7 separate regions of the Homo sapiens genome follow, and regions 1, 2, 4, 5, 6 and 7 are each linked to region 3. Evidence: promoter capture Hi-C in 16 types of primary human blood cells and fetal thymus (Javierre and others, 2016). All regions are on one chromosome and are shown on one strand. The core of a region is centred on a gene start or on the middle of the fragment in contact, and the rest is flanking DNA. Distances in the headings are between cores, read along the strand shown. Region 1 overlaps CENPE (centromere protein E). Region 2 has its middle 41 kb from the start of SLC39A8. Region 3 holds the start of MANBA (mannosidase beta). Region 4 overlaps BDH2 (3-hydroxybutyrate dehydrogenase 2). Region 5 overlaps CENPE (centromere protein E). Region 6 overlaps SLC9B2 (solute carrier family 9 member B2). Region 7 overlaps NFKB1-AS1 (NFKB1 antisense RNA 1).

What was found. Contacts are between HindIII fragments. The CHiCAGO score rates a contact against its expected background, and 5 or more counts as called.
Region 1: a contact is called between a fragment that was not itself captured here and the fragment with the promoter of MANBA in region 3, in 1 of 17 cell types (neutrophils). The highest score is 6.0, in neutrophils.
Region 2: a contact is called between a fragment that was not itself captured here and the fragment with the promoter of MANBA in region 3, in 1 of 17 cell types (total CD4 T cells). The highest score is 5.5, in total CD4 T cells.
Region 4: a contact is called between a fragment that was not itself captured here and the fragment with the promoter of MANBA in region 3, in 5 of 17 cell types (neutrophils, M0 macrophages, monocytes and 2 more). The highest score is 7.2, in neutrophils.
Region 5: a contact is called between a fragment that was not itself captured here and the fragment with the promoter of MANBA in region 3, in 1 of 17 cell types (monocytes). The highest score is 6.9, in monocytes.
Region 6: a fragment that was not itself captured here is called in contact with the fragment with the promoter of MANBA in region 3 in 2 of 17 cell types (M2 macrophages and neutrophils); the score reaches 7.0 in M2 macrophages.
Region 7: a contact is called between a fragment that was not itself captured here and the fragment with the promoter of MANBA in region 3, in 1 of 17 cell types (total CD4 T cells). The highest score is 6.7, in total CD4 T cells.

The regions. Positions count from the first base shown.
Region 1 is chr4:103,173,644-103,177,487 of GRCh38, reverse strand. CENPE (centromere protein E) reads left to right here. Exons shown (of 49, transcript NM_001813.3): 14 at 442-589; 15 at 1,440-1,528; 16 at 2,585-2,752. Among named protein-coding and RNA genes, the nearest start is that of CENPE, 23 kb to the left of the region's middle. The HindIII fragment of the contact is 2,274 bases long and covers 558-2,831 here.
Region 2 is chr4:102,384,665-102,388,272 of GRCh38, reverse strand. No RefSeq gene overlaps it. Among named protein-coding and RNA genes, the nearest start is that of SLC39A8, 41 kb to the right of the region's middle. The HindIII fragment of the contact is 4,429 bases long and covers 1-3,608 here.
Region 3 is chr4:102,759,362-102,763,356 of GRCh38, reverse strand. MANBA (mannosidase beta) reads left to right here and starts at 2,389. Exons shown (of 17, transcript NM_005908.4): 1 at 2,389-2,639. The coding sequence starts at 2,463. RefSeq lists a silencer at 2,225-2,354 and an enhancer at 2,445-2,794. The HindIII fragment of the contact is 23,862 bases long and covers 1-3,995 here.
Region 4 is chr4:103,093,129-103,097,199 of GRCh38, reverse strand. BDH2 (3-hydroxybutyrate dehydrogenase 2) reads left to right here. Exons shown (of 10, transcript NM_020139.4): 2 at 926-1,017; 3 at 1,919-1,997. The coding sequence starts at 946. Among named protein-coding and RNA genes, the nearest start is that of BDH2, 4.7 kb to the left of the region's middle. The HindIII fragment of the contact is 6,924 bases long and covers 1-4,071 here.
Region 5 is chr4:103,114,240-103,118,022 of GRCh38, reverse strand. It overlaps CENPE (centromere protein E), which reads left to right. Exons shown (of 49, transcript NM_001813.3): 45 at 1,334-1,446; 46 at 3,471-3,568. Among named protein-coding and RNA genes, the nearest start is that of BDH2, 16 kb to the right of the region's middle. The HindIII fragment of the contact is 1,824 bases long and covers 1,396-3,219 here.
Region 6 is chr4:103,060,914-103,064,879 of GRCh38, reverse strand. The region is part of intron 3 of SLC9B2 (solute carrier family 9 member B2); the gene reads left to right. Among named protein-coding and RNA genes, the nearest start is that of SLC9B2, 14 kb to the left of the region's middle. The HindIII fragment of the contact is 2,943 bases long and covers 1,164-3,966 here.
Region 7 is chr4:102,427,064-102,430,719 of GRCh38, reverse strand. The region is part of intron 2 of NFKB1-AS1 (NFKB1 antisense RNA 1); the gene reads left to right. Among named protein-coding and RNA genes, the nearest start is that of NFKB1, 72 kb to the left of the region's middle. The HindIII fragment of the contact is 1,585 bases long and covers 485-2,069 here.

The DNA of each region.
Region 1 (3,844 bases), core at 445-2,944, 410 kb before region 3:
GGGTTGCCGAGAGAGTCAAATAAGATGAGATGATACTTGCACCCAGTAAAGAGTCAAGAGAAGAATGGTGGCTATGAAACCTGGAGAAACACACTTAAGAGGCAGGCACAGGAAGAGAAACTAGCAAAGCAGAGTGAGTGGTAAGGACAGCAGCTGGGTAAGGTAAGAACCAGGAGATGGGTCCCTGAAGTGTTGAGGAAGGAGTGGATAAATGATGAGGAGGACAAAGTAGGAAAAAAAGAAAATGGTAGTTAGAGTGAAGTAAAGAGTCAAGAGTTTGATTTTTTTTTTAAGCAATATCCTTAGACTAATAAAATTTTAAACTAGGCTTAATAAGAATTCTACCAAGTCAATGGTTTTCAAAAATAGAAACTAGTTCCCTTGTTTTATTATGTTTGAATACAGATCTATATGACATAATTTTGATTTCTTCTTCTTTAGGCTAAAAGAAAACGAAGAGTTACTTGGTGCCTTGGCAAAATTAACAAAATGAAGAACTCAAACTATGCAGATCAATTTAATATACCAACAAATATAACAACAAAAACACATAAGCTTTCTATAAATTTATTACGAGAAATTGATGAATGTGAGTGCTTTTTTCAAGTGGAACTATGTTTAATTATAAAAGCATCCTTATAAAGAGAAACTATGTTTATAGCTCAGTTAATGTGATAAACATGTTTAAATACTGTGTATTTCATATGTGATTACAATGGAGACTATGATTTAAAATAAGTAATTCTAAAAATACAAAAAAACTAGCTGTGCGTGGTTGCAGGCGCCTGTAATCCCGGCTACTTGGGAGGCTGAGGCAGGAGAATCGCTTGAACCTGGGAGGCGGAGCTTGCAGTGAGCCAAGACCCGTTGCACTCCAGCCTGGGTGACAAGAGTGAAACTCTGTCTCAAACAAATATAAATAAATAAATAAATAGAAAGTAATCATAAGTTCTTTATTCTGAATCTCCTAAGAATGATGCACTAGTTGAAACACACATGAGACAGGTGTTTTTATTTTCTAATTATTATTCAATTAAATTGTTAGTTATATGGCATCTGCCTTTGCTAATCTTAAAAGAGTGGCATTGACATAGGAATCTGTTTCAAAATTATTTCTTCAATAGTACAGTCTGTTGGGGGGGAATTTTAAATCTACTTATAATGATCAAATCTCAAATTCAGAATTTGTCCTTTTAACCTATATTTCATTAAGGATCCTGTATTGTGTCACTAATTCCAACCAGTGATCATCTTAATTCATACAATAACATAAATGACCATATCTATTAATGTACTTTTGGTATTCATACTCTGAGCACATAGTAGTTAATTTGAAGTTCTTAGTATCTCTGATAAGAATTTTTTTAGTAATCTTTAATTTGACTTAGGAAATTTGGTAAACATGTTCATGGACAAATTTTTTTTTTCTCTAATTATAGCTGTCTGTTCAGAGTCTGATGTTTTCAGTAACACTCTTGATACATTAAGTGAGATAGAATGGAATCCAGCAACAAAGCTACTAAATCAGGTAACTTAATGTATTTTACAGCATATAATGCTTTTACTCTTTTTAAAATTCTTTTGTTATTAGGTTTTGTTACTTGTTCTCATTTAATTTCAGTAATGATTTTGGCTCTAATGAAGGCTTTTCTCTTTACATTTCTACTCTATAACCATCAGGCACCTAGAGGAAGGCTAAAAATTTCATAAGGCAGACATGTGCTAGTAGGTAAACCTTTGCCTCTAGCTCTTTACTAGCAGATCTTAGTATTCACAATGTTTGTAAAGTTTCTGTTTTGCCTTGGTAAACTTCATTAGGGTAACAAGACTGATTTTAAAAGTGTCAATTCTCAGGCATTTATAATGTATAGAATAATATATCAGGGAGAGGTAATTTTGGTGAATACATCAGTAAGTTTAGATTCCGTGTTTACTTTGTAGATTGCTCGTGTTTAAAGATGTATAGTTGTATAAAGTAATAGACATTTTCATTTGAATTTTAGAATATAATTGCATTACTACTTATTATTGTTAGTTAATTCCTATAAAGTATTATTGATAAAGTGTTTTTTTGTTCCTAATACATACATTAGAAGTTTCTTGGGTTTTTTTTACAATCTCTGGTGTAAAAAAGTATTTTTTTAACTCATGGTTTATCTCTTCTCTTATAATAATATAGAAAATAGAAATAGGCCTCTTTATAGTAAAACACAGTTGTCATTAGCTTTAGAAGTCAATAAATAATATCTCTGTTTCCATTCTTGAATTCAGAACCATCTGAGACATAAAATAAGAGTTAGTTAGATTGGGGAATTCAATTATCAGTTTTATTACTGAGGAGCTTGAGGACTTATGGTCAAAATTCCCTGTCAGGCACAGGCAAACATACACTTTATTGATATATTTTTAAAATTCTCCTTCTTTCAAAATAATCTATTCTAAGTTAGCTAGTTTGCCAAAATGTAGAACTTTAGAAAGATATCAAATCAAAGTTAAAGTAGTTATTTAAATAATTCAAATTTTATTAAGGAAACAAAAAATATTTGAATTTTCTGATTGGAAAATCTGTTCTTGTTTATAATAGGAGAATATAGAAAGTGAGTTGAACTCACTTCGTGCTGACTATGATAATCTGGTATTAGACTATGAACAACTACGAACAGAAAAAGAAGAAATGGAATTGAAATTAAAAGAAAAGAATGATTTGGATGAATTTGAGGCTCTAGAAAGAAAAACTAAAAAAGATCAAGAGGTAAGAGAGACAGAAATGTAAAACTAAACTAAAAGCATACTTTTAAAAGAAGTATTCTCTTTTTTCTATAATGTAAGCTTTTTTAATTTTTTTTAAATGTACAGATAACATTTTATGTGTTTATTGTATACAACATGATGTATGATGTTTTGAAGTATATATACATTGTGGAATGGTTAAATCTAGCTAACAAATGTACTACCTCACATAGTTATTGTTTTTGTGGTGATAGCACATAGTATCCACAAATTTTATGTTTTTTAAGAATACAATAAATTGTCATTAACTATAGTCACCTTGCTGTACAATAGAGCTGTTGAAATTTATTCCTGCTATCTAACTGTCATTATGTCATCTGACCAAGATTTCCCCATTTTCTTCTCCCTGAAAAACACCCCAGCCTCCAATAACCACCATTATACTTTGTACTTCTAAGAGATCAGCTTTTTAAGATTCTGCATGTGAGTGAGATCATGCAGTATTTGTCTTTCTGTTCCTGGTTTATAATGTCCTTTGGGTTCATCCATATTGTTGCAAATGGTAGGATTTCTTTTTTTTTTTTTAAATAGCTGAAGAATATTCCATTGTGACTTTATACCAAATTTTCTTTATCCATTCTTCTGTTGGTAGACTCTTAGGTTGGTTCCATATCTTGGCTGTTGTGGAAAGTGCTGCAGTAAATATGGGAATGCAGATATTTCTTGAACATACTCATTTAAGTTCCTTTGGGTACATGCCCAGTAGTAGGACTGCTGGATCTTATGGTAGTTCTATTTTTGCTTTGTTGAGGAACCGTCATACTGTTTTCTATATATTCCTACCAACAGTATAAAAGGATTCTCTTTTGTCCACATCCTTGCCAACAAGTTCTCTTCTGCCTTCTTGATAAGCCATTCTAATTGGGATGAGGCAATACCTCACTGTGGTTTTGATTTGCATTTCCTTGATTATTAGTAATATTGAACATATTATGTGTATGTCTTCTTTTGAGAAACGTCTGTTCAGGTCTTCTGCCTATATTTTAATTGGGTTGTTTGGGGGTTTTTTTGCTATTGAGTTGTTTTAGTTTCTTATATATTTTGGATATTAACC
Region 2 (3,608 bases), core at 305-2,804, 370 kb after region 3:
TTTTAAGGAACTTAAAATCTCCTTGGAAAGGTAAGATAAGAATGTAGAAAGTAACAGAAAATATGAGTACACCAATAATGTGCACCAGTGAAAAGGTTAAAAATAATAAGATTTAAGGCTTTCTCAGAAGTATGGGGTGGTCAGTGAATGCATTCACTGGGGGATGAAGGACATGGGAAGGGGGCTGAGACTTGAAGGATTCAGGGACTGATAAGATGCCGTGAAGATGAGGCAAGGGAGCCATTTCAAGCTAAAGAGTGGGAGGAGGATGGTTTGAGCAGAGATCTGGTGCAGAAAAGAGAAGAATGCCTGGAGGCAAGTTGGGTAACTGCAGGAGATAAGGTTTGGCAAGGTAAAAATGGGCCAGATGGTTGAGGGCTAGGCACAGGAATTCAGATTTTTGTCTTGCACAGATTTCAGAGTTTGAATTAGGAAATAATTTGACTTAGAGACTGTAAACACCCAGAAAAATGTAAGAGACAGCAGTTATGTAGGCTTTGTGATTATTGTAGAACTTCAGAACGGAAATGAATAATCTGACCTATGTGGACAGTGATGGGGATGGAAAAGCAGGGATGCATGTTAGTGAAGTTGCACAAGAGGAATCAAAAGCATTTGGTAACATGATCTAGGGGTGAGGGGCAGGTAACTTTCAAACTTTTTGATGATGATCATAACAAGAAATGCATTTATATATTTTGCTTATAATTACATATACATATATATGTTGTACATTTATAAAAAACGGAAATGAAAATTCTAAAAAAAAGTTTACGCTTACTCTAATTGATGTACATTGATATTTGTTTCCTTCCATTCTATTAAAAAATAAACTGATATTAATCCATGAAAATGATTTTATGAACCATGAGTGAGTTGTTATTTGAACACAATGTTTGTAGGGGTATAATTTAAAGGATACCAGAAAATTGTCCTTCTCCAAGATTTCTTACTGATTTTGCATTTCCAGAATTGGAAATTGAAATTTTGGTCCTGTGTTAAAGCAAATCTCTTTGGAAAGGCATAAACTTTGCAACCTTTTACCTTACAGTGAGCAATTTATTATCTTTCCTGGAAATCATGTTACGTTAGAGCAGACAATAGGGAAAATATGGAAGCCTGAGATGTTTGTCTGAAAGGTTGCGAAAGGCAAGACGGTGTTGAGACAGAAATGTTGTCCTCTTTAAAATTTTATATAGAAGTTACTACAATAAGTACAAGACAAAATTAATATTCACTCATTCATTCTCACTTAATCACAAGATAAAATTAATATTCACTCATTCATTCTCACTTAATCTTAGCCAAAAAACTGAGAAGCAATAATATTCATTCTCTGAATGAGGAAGAAAGACTTGAAGGAAGGTGGAACAAGGATTGGCAAACAGGATAGTAAGCCATTGTTTCTCAGCCATGAGGAGAAGATGCTAACCAGTACATCTGGAAGGTGAAGAACAGGAGAAGGAGAGGTTTGGAATAACCAGGAATAGGAATAGAGGGAGAAGGTGGGAGTGTAACTGTCTCAGGAGAGCGTTATATGTCAATGTATCATGTCAATGAGCCATGATAAAAGTGACTCTAGTCCTCAGGTTTAGGCAAGTTGCTTAGTCTGGGTCCTCTATCTTTTGTTGTGAAGACTCGATTTCACTAGAGTAACTGTCCAAACAAACCAACACACAGAGAATTAGGAAAATGGGTTCCTAATTCATCTGTGGTATTGTCAGGAGAATAGGAGAGTCAGGCAGTTAGTGTTCTTCTAGTGGTTCCAAGGATTAGAGGAAAATCATATTGGAGAAAGGGCATAGGGCACATGCCTTAATTTATGTGTATGGAGAAGGATGCTCTCTGGATGGCTGTGATAATCCCAGGTATCTCACGTTTTCAGCTTCAATTTGGTGTGTGGTCTGCATCTCCATGATTTTGTCTGGGCTGAGGGGTCAGTCGTGAACACTTCAGGGTTATTTTGCACCAGGCCGCTTAGTCCTATCTAGAATATGGCAAATCACTCTTAGATCTAAGATATCAATTTAGCAGAAACAGCAGTCAGTGAGTGAAGTCAAATAATTTCAATGGTGCACAATGGATGTATTAAATTTTATCATAGCACTAACCTCTTCTATCAATTGTGTAAGATTACTTTTCTCTTGAAAGACCAGTACCCTTAGAAGAAAGATCAATCTTCTCTTATTAATGCCTCTCTTAAACAGAGGCATTAAACTTACATATTTGCAACTTCTGCTTAACATTTATAATTAAGAATTCCTCCTTAATTTGGAGTAAATTATATAGAACTAGAATAAAAGATGAGTTCCCTTTGCCAATTTATAGAGCAGGAGCTGGATAAAAGGATGCGGCCATGCTGTTTTCTTCTCAGAGCTACATCTGCTCCAGTGCCTGAGGAGATGCCCAAGGCACAGTTCAAAGTCTCTATTTCTAATCTCTAGTGAGAGTTTGATAGGAAGAATGTGGACTTATCCTTCCTTGTCCTGAAATTGAGAGGAAGAGAGGGATGTGTGTGACTCCCCTCCCCGTGTTCAGGGACTTTGCCATCAAAGCCTTGCATTATTCCAGGAGTCCCCACTTGCTTTAGTTCGATGGAAAGAGAATTTAGCTGGATGGAGGAATCAGGAATTCCCCCTGAATATTGTGTGCCAAGGAAATCTTTTTTGTTTCCAGTAATCATAAAATAACCCATAACACCCAGATGGGTCTGATTCCTGGACCTCAACACAAATGTCCCCTCATTCTCTACTCTCTTTCAGATATAAAGGTAAATGCTATCTAAGCCACAGTAACCTTGAGATACTGTGGGCCTGGGGCAGAGAAGAGCATCTGTAGAAGAGGCAGTGGACCACAGTACTGGATCTGGAAGTTCTGAGCCTTTACTTGTTGAGGAGCAGTGAGTACCTATTTGGGATTTCTGGTGAGTAACATCACCTGCCTCCTCTGACAGAACTCCATTATCATGTCATTGATTTCTCAGTGAACCATACTCTAAAGGTATTACTAGGAGAATCTGGTCTGTGAACATATGCTCATAGTTCTGTGTCATAGGAACAGGTATAAGAATTTCAAGGAAATAAGCATATCAAATGGTCACTGTGGAAGACTAATTCGCTGTCTACATTGAGTTAGCATTTGCACATTTCACATGACTCCACACCCATGATAAATGATGAAGAACAACAATAGGAAGCATGCAACCAGCCAACTGCTCTGAGGGCCCAGAAGGGCTGACTTTGGGAAACTGACTCTCCATCCTTTGGAAAACAAGGCTGAAGGGTCCTGACTTTTTCAGCACAGCCCTCTCCATGCAAACTGTCATGAGGCAAAACACTGGGTCATAGACCTGTGATTCCCAGCCAGTGTGATATAGGTGTCAGATGATATGTTCATAAGAACATGGTAAAATGAGAAAAATCACAAAATGGAGTAAGTTTGTAAATAGGTCCAAGATTATTACAGTTAAAGGAATTTTCCTTATTTTAAGATTATACTCGGGGATGTGGCAAGATGACCAAATAGGAACAGCTGTAGTCTGCAGCTCCTAGTGAGACCAACACAGAAGGGGGGTGATTTCTGCATTTCCAACTGAAGTACCCAGTTCA
Region 3 (3,995 bases), core at 1,140-3,639:
GGCCTAACTACTTCCATTGGTCTGTTGTGACAGGATACTGACCCTACACATCATTTAATCACCGTGGGCATTATTTATCTTTTTAAACCAGGGAACGATCACTTGTTCTAAATAATTCAAGTTTTGGGAAGCATCAAATGAAATGATCAAAATGAAATCTGTTTATACAGTGTAAGTTAAAGATACCCATAACTATTTTAAACATTGCATTTGGTATCATGACTTTAAATTACATAAGTTGAGAAGTTTTATGTTATCTCTAAATAAGGTTTATTTACCAGAAAATCATGGACAAAAATTATCCTATAACAAAATGAAAACATCATGTCATCTGTGCCAATTGCAATTTTAGGAAGAGTACTTATTAGGGCTTTGATTATTCTTTGATGTTCTCTGTTGTCAAAGTGAAGTAACCTAAATGATGTTATGCTTGCATCCTGGAATGAAAGGAGGAATGAGAATCTTCTATTATTGTTTTTCTAAAAATTATATTTCTTAATAAACAGAATATATCCATATGTATCATCAAGGATGAATTTTCCTCTGATTTGGCTTAATGAAATCTCTGGGAATTATGAAAAAATTCCTTTGCCGCTCTTGTTGCCATAAACCTTGTGTTATCAGTGTTGCACAGACCATGGCTAGCCATTTAATGCCGTGAATTATGGCATATAATTTGAATTGAGAGCTTTGTTTCTATCAAAGGTAAAAATGCTTCTGGAGTGAGTGAGGAAGGCTTTGAAGCAGTGAGAGCGTTTCCCCTATAGCATCATTGGGCTCTGACAGTAGGACCTTGAAGAGGAGGGTTCTAATCCTGTCTGCCACTATGTGACAGGCAAGTCACCTGATCTTTTTTTTTTTTTTTTTTTTAGAGTCTTTCTCTATAGCCCAGGCTGGAGTGCAGTAGTGCCATCTCGGCTTACTGCAACCTCTGCTTCCTGGGTTCAAGCGGTTCTCCTGCCTCAGTTTCCCGAGCACCTGCGACTACAGGCACGTGCCACCACGCGCCCAGCTAATTTTTGTATTTTTAATAGAGACAGGGTTTCACCATGTTGGCCAGGCTGGCCTCGAACTCCTGACCTCAAGTGATCCACCCGCCTCGGCCTCCCAGAAGTGCTGGGATTACAGACGTGAGCCACCGCGCCTGGCCCCGATCTCTTTGAACTCAGTTCCCTCATCTGTAAAGCCAGCGGCTTGGGTTGGATAATCCATACTGTCCTTTAAGCCAAGATATTCAGGGCTTGTAAATAATGCTGACTTTGCAAAGTAAGATATTGCCCGGTGTCTGCAGAATCAGGCAATTCCAAGGCCATTGTAAGGCGAAACAAAGCTCAGATTTGATGAGAGAAAATTTCTTTTCAAGGACTTCTTCCGAAGCATAAATATACGGCAGATAGCGTCAACACAGGAGAAAGGCAGTCTATTTTATGCAATGTAAAATTCCGTCTTAACTTCTAGGATTACTGTTACATCCTATTGCAAAAATGGGACTCAGGTAGACCATTTGACTACAAGACCCGAAATAAGTCAGTGGTATTTCTTGGGTACTCTGGCATTGTTAGGGACGATCACATATGTTTACTCATTTTATACTTATAACACCTTGAAAACTTCAAGAAACGGAGATGGAGATTTTGCGGCTTGCCCAGGTCCCACAGCTAGTGAGTGCAGAGGATTTTAAACTCAGCTGCGCGCCTAGTGCAGGTTCCAGAACCTCAGAAACCTCCGTGGGGCTTTATGAAACATAAGGACGCAGGCCGCTAGTAACAATAGCTAACGTGAATGCCTTCTCTGGGCCAGGCTCCATGCTGCATGCTATAGTCGCATTTTCTTGGTTAGCCCTCAGAACAACCTTCTGATGGAGATACTGCTAGTACTTGTTTACTCTTTGAAGGGCGGGGTAGGCTCTGAGACCCGCGAGTTGAGCTGCAGCGGGGTGAGTGTTACGCTACCAGGTAGACGAGGGTCTGTGTAAATTTGGCGGAAGGGAAGTGGTGGGTTGTCTCCCAGTTTGGGTTCTCTGAAGGAGTGAGGGGACTCTCCAGCTATGGTCTCCACGTACAGTCGGTCTCTGATCTCCCGAGGCTTTGTGCCACTGCGCGCCCAGGGATCTTTCTGTCCCAATTACCGTGCAAGATTCTTGCCTCCAGTTGTATGTACTGAGGCGGCGGGAAGAAGCGCCGAGGGAAGGCTCAGACCGCAATGCCCCCCAGCCTGTAGCTATTCTCGGGGGCTGCAGCTCCCGCACCCGCGACGCCCGGCTTTCAGCGGGTGCAGGCGCAGCCTCCTCGTTCCCCTCCCGCCCGCGGCTGCGCCCGGAGAGCGCTCAGCTGACCTAGGGGCGGGGCCGGGGCGGGGACCTAAAGCCTCGGCTACTTCCGAGGGGGTGAGTGGCTTCACCGCCGGTCCCTTGCAGCGCTGCCTTTCGATCTCTCCACATCTCGGTGGCGCGGGATCTCAAGATGCGCCTCCACCTGCTCCTGCTGCTCGCGCTGTGCGGTGCAGGCACCACCGCCGCGGAGCTCAGTTACAGCTTGCGTGGCAACTGGAGCATCTGCAATGGGAACGGCTCGCTGGAGCTGCCCGGGGCGGTCCCTGGCTGCGTGCACAGCGCCTTGTTCCAGCAGGGCCTGATCCAGGTATGGCGTGCGGCCGACCCGCGGCGAGCCTGCGCCCGCCTTCTTCTGGTGCTGAGAGGGGCCCAGGAACCGCCTGGCAGCCCCCAGCTCTGGGCCATTCTCGTCGGTTTGGTAGTAACTTCCCCTTTGCATCTTGTGATCTGCGGGGGGAAATGCCCAAGCTATGGGGTACGGGCTTGACGGAGACTGAGCGACCGACCCATGTTGGGACATCAGTAACTCTGGAAAGGGGAAGTTTAGATAGGGGAACAGTGTTGCTACTAGCAGTTTACTTACTGCAGTCGTTCTCTACTGAAGCGTGTATACAAAGGGCATGCCGTCACTGACAAGCATAAGGTCGGGAATTACTGTCTCTACTGTCTGCACGCCACAGGGGACAACAGCGTTTTGTTAAGTAAGGGTTAACTCTATTGAGTAATGTCTCGGTTTTTTATTTTCGCTGTTAAGCGTCAGGGAGTCAGATTTGGGATTGACGCAGCACAGACGTTGTGGAGAATGACCTACAAGAGTAAAGTTGGGTTTGTCAGTGCTAGTGTGGCTAACAACGGGTAAATAATTTTTAAGGCTAACTTGGTGATGAAGAAAGGTGCTATTTCCTCTCAGGGCGTGTGTGTGTGTGTGTGTGTGTATCCCAATGGAGTCTCCAATTTACAGACTACTTGTGGGGAACGTTTTCGTGTTTGGCTGCCTGTGCGCATAGGTTTGCAAACTGACTTCCATCCTCCAACTGCTTTTGCTGTTCCCTCTTGCACAGCGTTCCCACGTGTTGTCTTTACTTGGGGCAAAATGTACTTGTAATTGATCTACTTGTGGGATGCATACATTGTCCAATCCTCATAACAACTCTGTATAGTAAGTGTTCATATCTGAATTTTATGGATAATATGGAATTATGGAACACAGAGAAATTAGGAAGGTGACAGCAACTAAATGGAAAGAAATGGAATTCTAACCCAGGTGGTCTCAACTCCATAGCCTGGTCTCTATACTATGTGGTATGCTTAGTTTGGTGTTTTAAAAAATCATGTGTTTTTGAAGCACTGTGGCTGACTTTCAGGAGCACCATTCTAAGTTTATTTGCATGACAAGGTGGTCATCTAGGGTTGTGCCAAATTTCTGACCTGGTACTTAGTAGTTTTTTTTTTTTTTTTCCTGAGATGTGTATCAGAAAGGAGGTGAATGTTGTAAATGACATTGACCATTGTCCGATGTATTTTTAGAGTAGATCATTCCCAAACTTTAGTACTTTATTTTAAGTTGACAAACTACTTGTGATAGAGAACACAGCTGACCACAGTATACTCTGAGTTTTCACTTATATCTGCTTTGAGAATGCCTGTGTTTATTTTGTAGGGT
Region 4 (4,071 bases), core at 462-2,961, 330 kb before region 3:
TCCCATTGACTGGCTCTATGACATTGGGCATGTTTCAGCAGTTTCCTCATCTGTAAAATGGGAGTATTGGATGTGATTTGATTTTTCCATCCTTTTTTTTTTCGATGAATATCTGAGACCAACTATGAAATCTTTTCAAGAGAAAAAAAATCATAAGCAATTGATAGTGCAAACCTCAACAAAAGTTTATGGAAGAGAAATCAAGAAGCAGCCCTGAGTAGTAAGGACACAAATAATGTCATAGCAATGTGTGCAGGGGTCATGGAGAGAGTGATGGTGGTAGTGAGGAAACTCAGCACCAGAGGCTGTCCTCTCCAGGTACTGAAGGAAGGATAAGGTAGGTTAAAGTGCAATATCTGGGCTGGGCACAGTGGCTCAGGCCTGTAATCTCAGCACTTTGGAAGGCTGAGGCAGGTGGATTGCCTGAGGTCAGGAGTTTGAGACCAGTCTGGCCAACATGGTGAAAGCCCGTCTCTACAAAAAATACAGAAATTGGCTGGGCGTGGTGGCAGGCACCTGTAATCCCAGCTACTCAGGAGGCTGCGGCAGGAGAATTGCTTGAACCTAAAAGGCGGAGGTTGCAGTGAGCCGAGATCACTCCATTACACTCCAGCCTGGGTGACAAGAGTGAAACTCCATCTCATAAAAAAAAAAAAAAAAAAAAAAAATGGCCAATGTCTGTCACCAGTCATTACTTCAGTGGGTTATGGTAAATGTGTTTGATATACAAAGCTAGGTATGCAGAGTAAGCATTCTAGGAGAATTCAGATGATGGGACTACTTGCACAGAGGTGCTGTCTTCAAGTTCCTGAAGGAGCTCACTAAATTATTCTTAAAAGAGCACACTGAACTATTCATTCTAGATGTTACTGCCTGCTCAAGATCATGTTCTACAGTATAACCCATTAAACACACATGTCTTTAGATTAAACCACAGGTTCCATTATGGGTCGACTTGATGGGAAAGTCATCATCCTGACGGCCGCTGCTCAGGGGATTGGCCAAGCAGCTGCCTTAGTAAGTTATAAGTTACTATCTTTGTTGTTTGCCTACTAACTCTTGACATATTGAATTATGTGGACTGATGCCATGGTTGTTTACTTCTGCTCTGCTTTTTTATTTTTTTACTTTTGTGCTTCTGTTGTCTTAAGTTATAAAAATAAACAAATAAATAAATAGGTCCCTACTCCTGACCCCAGGCAGATGAAGGAATGAATACCTCATATTTAGTACATGACATCACTGATAACCATTGACTCTGAGAAACTTCTCTACTTCAGTTTCTCTGCATCATGATATATTCGCTACAGAGGGCAAACAGGGTTACACAGCTTTCTGAAATTGTGTCAGTTTAGATATATGACTCCAGAGTTATAAGACAGGTTACCTTGTTCTCCTGATTTATATCAATTTCTGTTACATTATGTACCCCACTTAAGCTAATATCGGCACCTTAAGTATAACAGTACCTTAAGTATAATGGCAGGGTATGGTTTGACATTTATGAAAGCACTAGCATACTCTTAGTAGGAAAAGTGTTGAAACAACCAATTTTTCTCTTATTATTTGGAGTTTAGTAACTCAAACTCAGAAATGATATATAGTCTCATTACAGAAGAGCAGTATTTTGAGAGTATTGAAAACAGCTGTCATTTTTTTAAGAACGTTATTTTGTTTGATATTACTTAAAGGGACTAAGTCAGATGACAAGCACAATGTATGTCACATTGTTCTAATTAATGATAAAAATAATAACAATGGAGAAGGGGTAAGACTAGATAGTTTAAAATTCTAGCTATCTTATAGGGAAAAGAACAATGAAAATAAGATAAAGGAGAAAAAGACCACATGATGTTCCATTCATGAGCACAGTTTATTCAAGTAAACAAAGGATTTATTTGTACTTTGTGTCTACTAGGCTTTTGCAAGAGAAGGTGCCAAAGTCATAGCCACAGACATTAATGAGTCCAAACTTCAGGAACTGGAAAAGTACCCGGGTAAGCAACTCAGCAGCTTGAATTTGGGATTCAGTGTCTGCAAGGTATTATAAAGCATGGCGCTCACATGTTGAAAGAAAATTCCCTAGCTACTGAGCTCCACTGCCGTGCTTTTTAGATTCTCTCTCTGATATGAAATCTATATTTTGTGAACCTATAGACAAAAATCTGTGACTTACATGCATAGAAAAATTTGAGGACGAATACTTAAAATCCTTTATTTAGCTAACACATTTGAGGGATTCAGTTCCTAATTACAAACTTACATGTGAAAATTTACTAGTTGTTAGGTTAACTTTTCATGACAGCTTTTCACTTCTGTGCCCTCCTCCTCTAGGATAGCCCTGTCCAATAGTAACATGTTGTGAGCTGCCTGTGTAATTTTAAATTTTCTAGTATCCACATTAAAAAAGTAAAAAGAATCAAGTGAAAATTAATTTAATAATATATTTTCTTTTATCCAATATATCTAAAATATAATCTCAACATGCACTCAAGTTAAAAAATTAATATTTTAATTTTTTCTTACTAAATTTTTTATTTAAATTATTAGAAGTTTCTTACAAACTTCAAACATTAATTTTCTCCTCTTTGCAGCTTTTCTCTTAATTTTCTCTTCTTTGAGGTATAATTGAGAAATAAAAATTGCATATATTCAAGATGTTCAACATGATGTTTTCATATATGTTGTAAAATACCTTGTGAAATGATTATCACAGTCAAGCTAATTAACATATCCATTACCTCATTTAGTTACCTCTGTGTGTATGTATGTGTGTGCTAAGAATACCTAGGATCTACCCTCTTAGCAAATTTCAAGTATACAATACATTATTAATAACTATAGTCACTGTACTGTATATTAAGTCTTATAACTGCAAGAGTGTACCCTTTGACCAACGTCTCAATATTTTCATACTAAATCTTTAAAATTCATGTGTATTTTACACTTGCAGCACATTTCATTTCAGACTAGCTGCATTTCAGGTGCTCAGTAGCCACATGTGGCTGGAGACAGCTTAGCTCTAAAATCACACATCATCATGAGAAACCCTAAGAGAGTACCCAGATTATTAGGTGTGTACCACCACTTCTTCACCCCACTGAACCAAACTCCAACACCAAAGGATTTTAATTGCAGTTTACCCAAAGAAATCAGAACAGAGAACCTATATGAAAGGTAACCCTTACAGCAAAATAGAACAGGTTACATAATCAAACAGCAATTAGTTCCTTGAATTAGTTAATTGAATTGGAATATGTTGAATTATAATTCAAACAAGTCAAAGTAAAGCTGCTGCACTGGGGAAGCACAAAGATAAGGAAATGTTTCTGAAACAAAATTTCAAGTCTTCCCTTTCTTTATGAATCTTTTATTTCTATATTCCCCCAAAATAAACCATATACATATTATTTATAATATATTATAAATTATAAAATATAATACACATTATAGATAATTATATATTATATGTATTATACATATATTATTATATATTATACATATACATATTAATACATTGTATATATTATAAATTATATTACTATATATTATATGTATTATTCATATATTATTATATATTATATGTATACATATTAATACATTGTATATATTATAAATTATATTACTATATGTTATAATATATATTATGCACATTATAAATAATATGTGTATATATTTATAATGATGACTGCTGCTTTTGTTAGACACTGTTTGGAGTTTCTCAGCAACTAGTGCAGTGTGTATCTCTCAGGTGCCCGCCATGCCAGATCTCTCATGTCTAGCCTTCAAGGGTGTCATCCCTTCTTCTGACCCTCTCATTTCTTCTCCTTGCAGTTTAGTCCAGAAATACATGTATTTGACTGGATACCCTTGACTAACAGAGTCATTTCTAATAAATAATGGAAATGACATAAAGGGGAAGCTCACAAATAGAAACAGTCTCTTATTCCAGAACACTTGCTCTTCTCCACCCCTCACTCAGACAAAATTCTGATTACTGTATAGGTACCAGCAACCCAGTCTCTGGCAGGGGAAGGATAGGGGAAGGACATCTTGAATATATGCAATTTT
Region 5 (3,783 bases), core at 1,058-3,557, 350 kb before region 3:
GTTCATAATTGCTAAGACTGTCTTTCAGTGGGTAAATGGATAAACTGGTACATTCATACAGTGGAATAGTATTCAGCAATTAAAAGAAATGAGAGGGCTGGGCGCAGTGGCTCATGCCTGTAATCCCAACACTTTGGGAGGCTGAGGCGGGCGGATCACCTGAGATCAGGATTTCAAGACCAGCCTCCCCAACATGGCAAACACTGTCTTTACTAAAAATACAAAAAAGTAGCCAGGCATGGTGGTAAGCACCTGTAATCCCAGCTACTCAGGGGACTGAGGCAGGAGAATCGCTTGAACCCGGGAGGCGAAGGTTGCAGTGAGCCGAGATCGCACCACTGCACCCCAGCCTAGGTGACAGAGCAAAACTCTGTCTTAAAAAAAAAAAAAAAAAAAAAAAGGAAAGAAAATGAGTGGACTTTTAATACACATTGGTTAGTGAAAGAAGCCAATCTGGAAAGGCTACATACTGTATGATTTCAAGTATATGACATTTTTAGAAAGACAAAACTACAGAGACAGTAAAAAAATAAACAGTTGCCAGGGATAATGGAGAAGAGAGGGATGAATAGGCAAAGCACGGGGTTTTTTAGGACAGTGAAACTATTCTGTATGATACTGTAATGATGGACATGTGCCATTTTACATTTGTCAAAACCCACAGAATGTACAATACAAATAAACTGTCATGGAAATTATAGATTTTAATAATAATGTATCAATATTCATCACTTATAACAAATGCAGCATACTAATGCATGATGTTAATATGGGGAAAAAGGAATAGGGGACACTGGGTATGTAGGAACTCCCAGTATTTTCCATTCCATTTTTCTGGAAACCTGCTGCTGTAAAATATAGTGTTTTGAATCACTGGATGGAACTGTTTCAGTACAAAATATACTTAGTAATGCTTTGTTTTGTGGCTTAAATTTAGTTCTAGTTTGATGTTTACATCACTGCTCCAACATCTTTTTGTTTCATTTTCTGATTTACCTTTTTCCACCCTTTTCATTATTTCCAACTTTTTTCATTTTGTAGGTATTTTCAATTAGAAAAAAAATATTTATTTTAAGAAATAAAAATCATGTTTCTAATTGCATATTATGATAGCTCCAAATAAAAAATCATGTTTCTAATTGCATATTAGCTTCAAATAGACTTCATATCAATATCTAGTTATTCAGTTAAAATTGATGCTTTTTCATATATTTGGAATTGTTTGCTATTTTAAAATGTCCTTATTAGAGCAAAGACAGCTAACCATTCTTTACAACTGGAGAAACTGAAGCGCCTCTAATAATTATTTTTATTTTCTCTAAAAAAAATTTAGGACAAAGTTGCTTTAGGAGCTAAGCCATATAAAGAAGAAATTGAAGATCTCAAAATGAAGCTTGTGAAAATAGACCTAGAGAAAATGAAAAATGCCAAAGAATTTGAAAAGGAGTACGTATTTGTCTTAATTTAATGTGATTTTAATAGCTTAAATTTTCTTCCTAAACTACATATACTTTTCATTAGTTAACTTTTTAAAATATAATTTATGAAAATATTGTTACAGCTCTTTTTTTAAAAATGTACACATCCATAGATTTTAAATATACTGGTCTCATTACATATGCAAAGTTTTTAAAACTAAACACAATTCTGATCAATTAACACGCTGTGTCTTTGAACACTTCTTAGTCATACAGAATATAAACAATTTTAAGTGGCTTTTGTATGCCTGAAAGTGAACATTAAGAGTGTGTGTGTGTGTGTGTGTGTGTGTATTTAGCAGTTTTACTAAGGCTTCTGTTGGTTCTCTTAATTTCATTTGTTGGCCTTACTGTGTTTCTGTGTGAAGATTATATTTCCTTTTAGTTTATAGTTCCCTAGGGCCCAAGAGCAAATCCTCTTTTTATTGATTTATTTATAGGTAGCATTATACATAACAGCATGCCTAAATTCTTTGTGGTATAGCATAATGAAAAGAACATTAAAGAGAGTCAAGGAAACTGAAGTAGAAATACGTTCTCAATCCCAGCACTTTGGGAGGGCTACACGGGCAAATCACGAGGTCAGGAGATAGAGACCATCCTGGCTAACACGGTGAAACCCCGCCTCTACTAAAAATACCAAAAAAATTAGCCGGCATGGTGGCAGGCGCCTGTAGTCCCAGCTACTTGGGAGGCTGAGGCAGGAGAATGGTGTGAACCCGGGAGGCGGAGCTTGCAGTGAGCCGAGATCGCACCACTGCACTCCAGCCTGGGCGACAGAGTGAGACTCCATCTCAAAAAAAAAAAAAAAAAGAAATATGTTCTCACTTACTAATGCATCACCTTACACTGTTTATTCTCTCTGGTCCTCGCATTCATAATCAATAAGGAAAGGTTTATTTAGAGGATTTGTTAGGATGCTTCCTGGCTTTTAACACTTTTCATTCTTCCTATATAAATCTTGAATAAATATTTAATGATCTCTTATTTTGCCCAGGAAGTAGCATTGGAATTTTCATGCTCTCTAAGCAGTCTATTGGTTTCAGTGAAACATAGATCTATTAGATTCTTAATTATAAAAACAATTTTACTTGTAGAATAGGGTCAGCAGGGCCGGGCACGGTGGCTCACGCCTGTGATCCCAGCACTTTGGGAGGCTGAGGCAGGCAGATCACCTGAGGTCAGGAATTTGAGACCAGTCTGGCCAACATGGTGAAACCCCGTCTCTACTAAAAGTACAAAAATTAGCCAGGCGTGGTGGCAGGTGCCTGTAATCCCAGCTACTCAGGAGGCTGAGGCAGGAGAATCGCTTGAGCTCAGGAGGCAGAGGTTGCAGTGAGCTGAGATAGCGCCATTGCACTCCAGCCTGGGGGACAAGACCAAGACTTCGTCTCAAAAAAAAAAAGAAAAGAAAAGTAAAGAATAGGGTCAGCAGATACAGATAATTCATAGTCATTAAGAAAGGCAGAAAGTCTTATAATTTATCGTTACTGATTAATGCGTAAACTAACAACTCATAAAATGTCTCTTTCTACTGGAGAACAGTGATCAGAATTTGACCTTTGTAGCACCTTAGACCAGAGCTGCAGTCAGGGTTTGCTTTCCTGACCATACAGAAATAAAGCTGCACTTTCTCTTTCATGCTCCTTATACCTTCAAATATTTCTAGGACCCCATGGTAAAAAATAATTAGGTAATTATAATTTTGTTCAATATACAATGAATTAGGCCTCCAGAAGCTTTAAAAGAACTGGGGTTTCTCAATATAAGAAAATCGGACTGTCCCTGCACCCAAGCAGAATGCTTCTAGTTTGATGGCATTAATGCCATAAGGCACATGGCACCAGAGAGGTATCACGAGGGCTTATCTACTGCCACTTACAGGCATTATGTCAATGTGATGTGTTAGAAAATCCTTCACAGCAGTTCTGTTTATTCTCCTGTAAAAAATCAGTTGCTGAGCTTTTTACATATTTTTATTGTTTTTGTTAGAATCAGTGCTACAAAAGCCACTGTAGAATATCAAAAGGAAGTTATAAGGCTATTGAGAGAAAATCTCAGAAGAAGTCAACAGGCCCAAGATACCTCAGGTAAGTAGAAAATGCAGATATTTTCAGATGAAATTTTACTTCTCAACACACAACAGACTTTGAAGACTAATATTATGTAGTATGTGACAGTCGAGAGTAAACAGAAGTTGGCCACTAATCTATTTTTAAATGAATTTATTGGAACCATATTTCCAGATATCTTGTGACATCGTTTGTTGTAATCTTAGATGCTTATCCATTATAGATTCTTGAAA
Region 6 (3,966 bases), core at 1,386-3,885, 300 kb before region 3:
AAATCATATTTTCAAAAGATAAAGATAATTTTAACATCAAAATATAAAAAGAATTGTTCAAAAACATAAACATCCATTCATCAGCATTATTTATTTATTTTTATTTTTGACACATATTTGTACATATTTGTGGGGTACAATATGATGTTTCAATACATGTATATATTATATAATGATCAAATCTAGCTAATTAGCATATCTAACACATGAAGCATTTATCGTTTCTTCATGGTGAGAACATAGAAAATCTTCTGTTTTGAGGTATACAATACCTTATTCCTGACTATAGTCACGTTGCTGTGGTACAGAACAAACTACTCTTCCTATCTAATTATCACTTTGTACCTGTTGACCACTCTCTCCCCATAACCCCAAGCTCCTCCCCTCCCCAGTCCCTGGTAATCACCATTCTATTTACTATTTCCATATGAACAACTGTTTTAGATTCTACATATGAGTGAGAACATGCAGTATTTGTCTCTCTGTGCCTGGCTTACTTCACTTAGCATAATGTCCTCCAGGTTCATCCATGTTGTTGCAAATGACAGGATTTCATTCTTTTTTATGGCTGAAAAGCATATCATTGTGTATATACACATATTTTCTTCATCCAGTCATTCATTGTTGGACACTTAGGGTTGATTCCATATCTTGGCTATTGTGAATAGTACTGCAATAAACATGGGAGTGCAGAAATCTCTTCAACATACCGATTTCATTTCCTTTGGATACATACCCAGTAATGGGATTGCAGGATCATATGGTAGTACCATTTTTACTTTTTTGAGGACTCTCCATACCATTTTCCATAATAGTGGTATTAATTTACATTCCCACCAATAGTGCACAGAGTTACCTTTTCTCTACATCCTTGCCAACCCCTTGTTATCTTTTGTCTTTTTGATAATAGCCATCCTGACAGGCATGAGGTGAAATGTTGAACATTTTTTCCTATACCTGTTTGGCCATTTGTATGTCTTCTTTTGAAAAATTCAGGTCTTTGCCCATTTTAAATTGGATTATTTGTTTTCCTGCTATTGAGTTTTTTGAGTTCCTTTTATATTCTGGACATTAACTCCTTGCCAGGTACATAGTTTGCAACTGCTCTCTCCCATTCTGTAGGTTGTCTCTTCACTCCGTGGATTGTTTACTGTGCAAAAGCTTTTTAGTTTGGTGTAATCTGGTTTGTCTGTTCTTGCTTTTGTTGCCTATATTTTTGGAGTCATATCCAAAAAGTTATTGCTCAGACCAGTGTCATGGAGCTTTTTATTTATGTTTTTTTTCTAATAGTTTCATAATTTTATGTCTTACTAAATTTGCCTTTTAAAGAAAATTTAAAGGCAATTTCAAAAATTGTGTTCAAGAATAATAGCATCATTGAAGTAAATATATGGATGCCCACATATGTTTACTGAAAAATGAGACTCAATTCCATAGTTATACTTTGTGGGCTCTGAAAGACATGTTTACCATTATCATCTGGGACAATGAAAGATAAGCATAATATACTATACTTTAGGCTCTAGATGTGTTTTTAATGAAACCAAGTCAGTTTACTTAACTAAGCATGGAAGAAAATCTCAAACTTAGAACATGTACAGAAAACCAGAATCCAAAAATATACACTAGCTGATAAGATCACAGATAATTGAATACCTTTTCTGTTCTTTTCATTATTTTTTTAAACTTTTATTATTCAAAATATGGCCTACTTATAGTTAAAACGTTTACAATGAAACAGATATGGACTGACATAAGGAAAGAGTAAAAATGAATAATGTAATTTTGGGACACATTTTTTAAAAATGTATAATCGTTCATAAAGCAGCCTGAAAAATGAGGTTCATGGTAGATAAACATCTCATCGCTTATTTTTCTGTTCTTCTGTTCCAGAGGTTTACAAGACGACTTTTGTCCTATATTTTTTCCTGTGCCTATGCAGTATATATCAGTATTCTTCTTAAAAAGTAGGCTGGGCACAGTGGCTCAAACCTGTAATCCCAGCACTTTAGGAGGCCAAGGCAGGTGGATGACGAGGTCAGGAGTTCAAGACCAGCCTGGCTAACATAGTGAAACCTCATCTCCACTAAAAATACAAAAAATTAGCCATGCATGGTGGTGGGTGCCTGTAATTGCAGCTACTTAGGAGGCTGAGACAGGAGAATCACTTGAACCTGGGAGGCGGAGGTTGAGATCGTGCCATTGCACTGCAGCCTGGGTGACAAGAGTGAAACTGTCTCAAAAAATAAAAATAAAAAAAGTAAATCTTACATGTGAAAATTTGTGGTTTTCCATAATCGTAAATGAGAAGTAAATTGTTAACTGATTTAAACATGATTTAGAGAAACCTTATAGACATACCATTTGCTATGTATTTACAACTGTGTTTCAAGTAAAGCACAGGGAAAGAGAGATTTTTTTAATAGTCTTGAAGTAGAAAAATCTCTCTTTTTTTTTTTTTGAGATGGAGTCTCACTCTGTTGCCCAGGCTGGAGTGCAATGGCTCGATCTCGGCTCACTGCAAGCTCCACCTCCTGGGTTCAAGCAATTCTCCTTCCTCAGCCTCCTGAATAGCTGGGATTACAGGCACGTGCCACCATGCCCGGCTAATTTTTGTATTTAGTAGAGACGGGGTTTCACCATGTTGGTCAGGCTGGTCTCGAACTTCTGACCTCATGATCCGCCTGCCTCGGCGTCTCCCAAAGCGCTGGGATTACAGGCGTGAGCCACTGCGCCCAGCCGAAAAGAGAAAACACTTAATTCTACCTTGCTGAATTTAATATTAGCTTGGGTTTATGCTATGATAAAGTATAATTTAGTATAATAGCTGGCAAATCCTGCTTTCCCATTCTACCTCTGATATCGCATAGAAATTTCAACCCTTGTAGCTAATTGGAAAATACTGGAAGTCCCTTAGGTATTCCACTGCAGTAGTATCATAAGCCTAGAAAATCTGGAACAATTCTGTGAGGGTTTAGAAAAAGGGACATTGAATTCAGTCTCTAGCAGTATGGTAGATGAGACTCAATGAACAATCTTGTCACAAACCAAGGACATCATCTGAAAAAATGTTTTAAGTCTTTTGAAATGATCTGTCAAGAAAACAGGGAATCATCAGACACCAAAACCAAAGTGTAAGTAGCAGAGGTCAGTAAGCACTCAAGGTGGCCCCACCCTGGAGGTTTCTACCAAACCTCAGGGAACTTTTTTTTTAATTATTATTATACTTTAAGTTTTAGGGTACATGTGCACGACGTCCAGGTTTGATACATATGTATACATGTGCCATGTTGGTGTGCAGCACCCATTAACTCGTCATTTAACATTAGGTATATCTCCTATTGCTATCCCTCCCTCCTACCCCCACCCCACAACAGGCCCCGGTGTGTGATATTCCCCTTCCTGTGTCCATGTGTTCTCATTGTTCAATTCCCACCTATGAGTGAGAATATGCGGTGTTTGGTTTTTTGTCCTTGCAATAGTTTGCTGAGAATGATGGTTTCCAGCTTCATCCACGTCCCTACAAAGGACATGAACTCATCATTTTTTATGACTGCATAGTATTCCATGGTGTGTATGTGCCACATTTTCTTAATCCAGTCTATCATTGTTGGACATTTGGCTTGGTTCCAAGTCTTTGCTATTGTGAATAGTGCCTCAATAAACGTACGTGTGCATGTGTCTTTATAGCAGCATGTTTTATAATCTTTTGGGTATATACCAGTAATGGGATGGCTGGGTCAAATGGTATTTCTAGTTCTAGATCCACCTCAGGGAATTTGAGATTGATTTTGAGAGCGCTGTGAGCACAGGAGGCTAAGCTAGAGCCTGCCCAGGTTGGGAGAAGTCTAACAGGAAAAAGCATTCTCCTTCACCCATATAAAGTTGAAACCCAGTGTGATGCCAAATTTGAGGTAAATCTGTTCTGCAGATGGGGCCTCTGACTAAACCTGTCTCAACTGTAGT
Region 7 (3,656 bases), core at 28-2,527, 330 kb after region 3:
TGGGAAAAATTTGCCTCCTCACAAGAACATTTGCCTGAGATGCTGATTCATTACAAAGGGACACAGAGCTTTGGGTTCAGAAAATAAAGAATGCTTCATATGGAAAATTTTGTAATTTATTATGTGAGCATGCTTCAGGTTTCACTTTGCTTTTGGTATCATCAAATGTTGTAGTAGTAACTGTACGAAATGAAATTCATTCTATTTACTCTAATAAGCAGATTCTTGAAGAAACTGCTCTCATAAGCTAAGGTTCCTTATGATTCTGCAAGGAAGAGAAGACTAAAGCAAATCACTGTCTGAAAACATAACAGCTGGCTAAAGTAAGCATTGAACAACACTAAGCACTTCAAAACATCAAGTAAAATTTTGGCATTTAGTATCACATAATGTATATGATCTATATAATATAATATAATATATACATACATAATATCTAGTATAGTGTTTGCAGTTTTGTAAGTCTAATGTATTACAAGAAGCTTAAGATGTAATTATAATGATTTTTATCTAAACACAATTGCTAGTGAAATAGGAAGACTAATTGCCAAAATACTTATTTGGTGTATTCTCTCATCAGTGGTTATCAAGATTTTAAAAACTTATGAGAAATGAGTTCCAAGAGCTTAATCCAGAGTAATACAAGTTTACTTGTTTTGCTTAGCTTTCTTTATCATCCTCTTTGGCTTCTATTCCAAATCTTCATCATTTCCTCAACATTTAACTGCCAATGTTCTCAGTAAACCACCTTGTTAATCTGCTTTTTTTTCTTTTTTTTTTTTTTTTTTGAGATGGAGTCTCGCTGTGTCGCCAGGCTGCAGTGCAGTGACGCGATCTTGGCTAACTGCAACCTCCGCCTTCCGGGTTCAAGCGATTCTCCTGCCTCAGGCTCCCAAAAACCACCTTGTTTCTTACTTGAGAAAGTTACAGTCATCCATCAATTGTCCACCCTGCCCAGCACTTACTAATATATAGACACTTTCTTAACTCCTTTCCACATATTTGGAGGATGATGTGTCCTTCTAGCACAAAGCCAAGCCCTCTCCTGGAGCCCTTGATTCCATTTCTTTCCTCCCCATCTCCATTCCTGGAATGTTGCTTCATCAGTCATTCCCACTCTGTTCTTATCTTCCACCTTAGCCCTTCTGTTGGCTCCAATCCTGAGTCCATACACCCCAAATCTTTCTCATCCTTAAAAAATGAACAAACGAAATACCCCAAAACAACAAAAAATAAATTCTCATGACCACAAAACAAAACAAACACAGCAAACAGAAAGTCAGCCCTTTCTTGACCACAAATTCTCTTTTGTCTTTCATTCCATCTTTTTTCTTCCTTTTTGTCCATGAGTTGCCACTGCTTTTCCACTCCCTTTTCACTCCTTAACTGACTGATCTCTAATTTTCTCTCCCATCACTAGACTAATACAATTCGTGAATGTTGCCAATGATCATTTTAACTCATCTTATTGGCCCTACTTGCCAAATTTGGGAAAATTGGTCACAGCCTCTTCTTGAAACTGTTTGATGTTTGCCGCTTTCTGATAATCTCTTCTTGGTCTTCTCCTAATCTGCTCATTTCATAATTTTTTTTTTCCTGTTTGATTCTCAGATTTTCCCTCTTCCCCTTGTACATCAAAAAATTTTAAACCCAGGTTCTTTAGTGATCCACAGGCCTCCTGAAATTCTGTGCAAAAATTTGGGTCTTTGATTATGTGTAATTTTCTAATAAGAAAGTCCATAGTTTACAGCTATTCTCAAAAGCATTAATTTCTCTCCAAAAGTGTAATAACCATTGTTCTATGTGGTCTTGCAAGGCAATCTTGGCAATTAATTTAGTTTTTTAAACAACTGACATATATCAAGAGCATACTAAGCAAAAGTATAGTAATTTTCTTAAGTAACCCTCAATTAGGTATGATAATCTTCACTTTACAAATCAGAAAATGGAGGCATAGAGAGGTGACTTGGCCTAGGAGACATAGCAGGTAGGTAGCTGTTATAGTTTTAATTGTCTTTTATTTGCTGATGATTCTCAAACCTGTATCACCAGCCCATATCCTCCAAGCTTCAGATTCATGAATAACTCAGTAAGTCATTTCTGGGGATACTCTATGGGGTATCAAACTCAGCATTTTTAACACTGAGCTTATTAACTTCTTGCCCCAACCTGTTTCTTCTGTATTCTCCATTCAGGGCCCATGCTACGGGAGTCATCTTGACTGTTTTCCTTTGTCTCCTACATTCAACCAATTTTCAGTCCTATTGAATTTAAATTCAAATTATAACTGTTTCTGCTAAGATACTAATCACCTTTTACCTGGTCTTATGTAACAGCGTCCTACCTATCTGAAATCCTTTGATGACACAGCATTTCATGGTGACTGAATAAATGGGCTATAAGGCCTTTGAAATATAATCCCAAGCCTGGCTGTCTCTTTACAACCTTCTCCAGCCTCTCCCTTCCCGTAACTTATACTTCAGCCACATCGCATGCCTGGATTGATCCAGGGATAAAAATCTAAACTATTTGTTGGGCTGGGTAGACTTTATCTCCTTGAATTATGAATTAATTATGGATTCTCTATGAATATTATTTCTTACGTCTTTTGATAAAAGCTGGGTAGTGACTGTCAGGTATTTTATTATCTGAAAAATGCCTTAGAGCAATTATTTGGTGTTATGATTGAAGCACATGTATTATAAAGCTAATATACTTCAAAAAGTATGTATTTTAGAGATCAATTGAGCAAAGAGAAAAAGGTTAATGTCCCCTTATGAAAATTAAGGTGCCTAAGCTAGACTTTGTCTTGAATAGACATTGGCCTACCTCTGCATGGAGAAGGCCTAGGAGCACTATAGACAGTTAATAGATTTTTCTCAGAATACAATTCTGGGTCTGCTCCAGGATAGGGGCAGATCAATCAACAAAGTTCCAAAGGTCTACACTGTAGACCGTGGCTTTGGCAATTTTAGCCTGGAAGATTTTCAAAGCAGAATTACCCCGAGAAAAATCTCAGAAATCCATCTGAGAAATGTCTGAGTTTGAAAGCTTCTCAGTGAACCCTCTAGAGAAAATTACTTGTGAAATGTGCCCCTTACTAATAAAAATGACTGACATGCTGTTTGGAGTTGTTTGATATAAACCAATTAAACCTTGGAGAATATTTGCCAAAACTGTGAATTTGTGTTTAGAGATAGTTGACCTTATGCAAACTGTTTTTTTTGTTGTTGGTTACCTGGTAGCAAAATTGTGTATTGAGTCCAGTACTACCATGGATTTTTTTTTTTTTTCGCAAGGGGAATTCTACTTGAGTTATGAAGTTGAGTGTGGTTTCTTTCAGCTTCTGATAGTCTCAATGAGATTGCTGCTAATTGGGTATTTGTTTACAGGTTTTAACAAACTGTAACTGTTAGAATTTTTCCATGCATTTATCCAAAAGAGGCAGATAATTTAAATAAGTACTCAGGGGCTACCTAATTTTTCACTTACTAGCTATGTACCAAAACATGGTGTGTTAGAGGAGCTCTCAGTGGCTCAACATGTATATAATGAATTGTGCCTCGATCACTTATAAAATGGCCCCTCTTGTCTATCAATAACCTCACACCTTCTTTGTTGAAATTTCAAATTCCAGTTTTGTGGGTACATAGTAG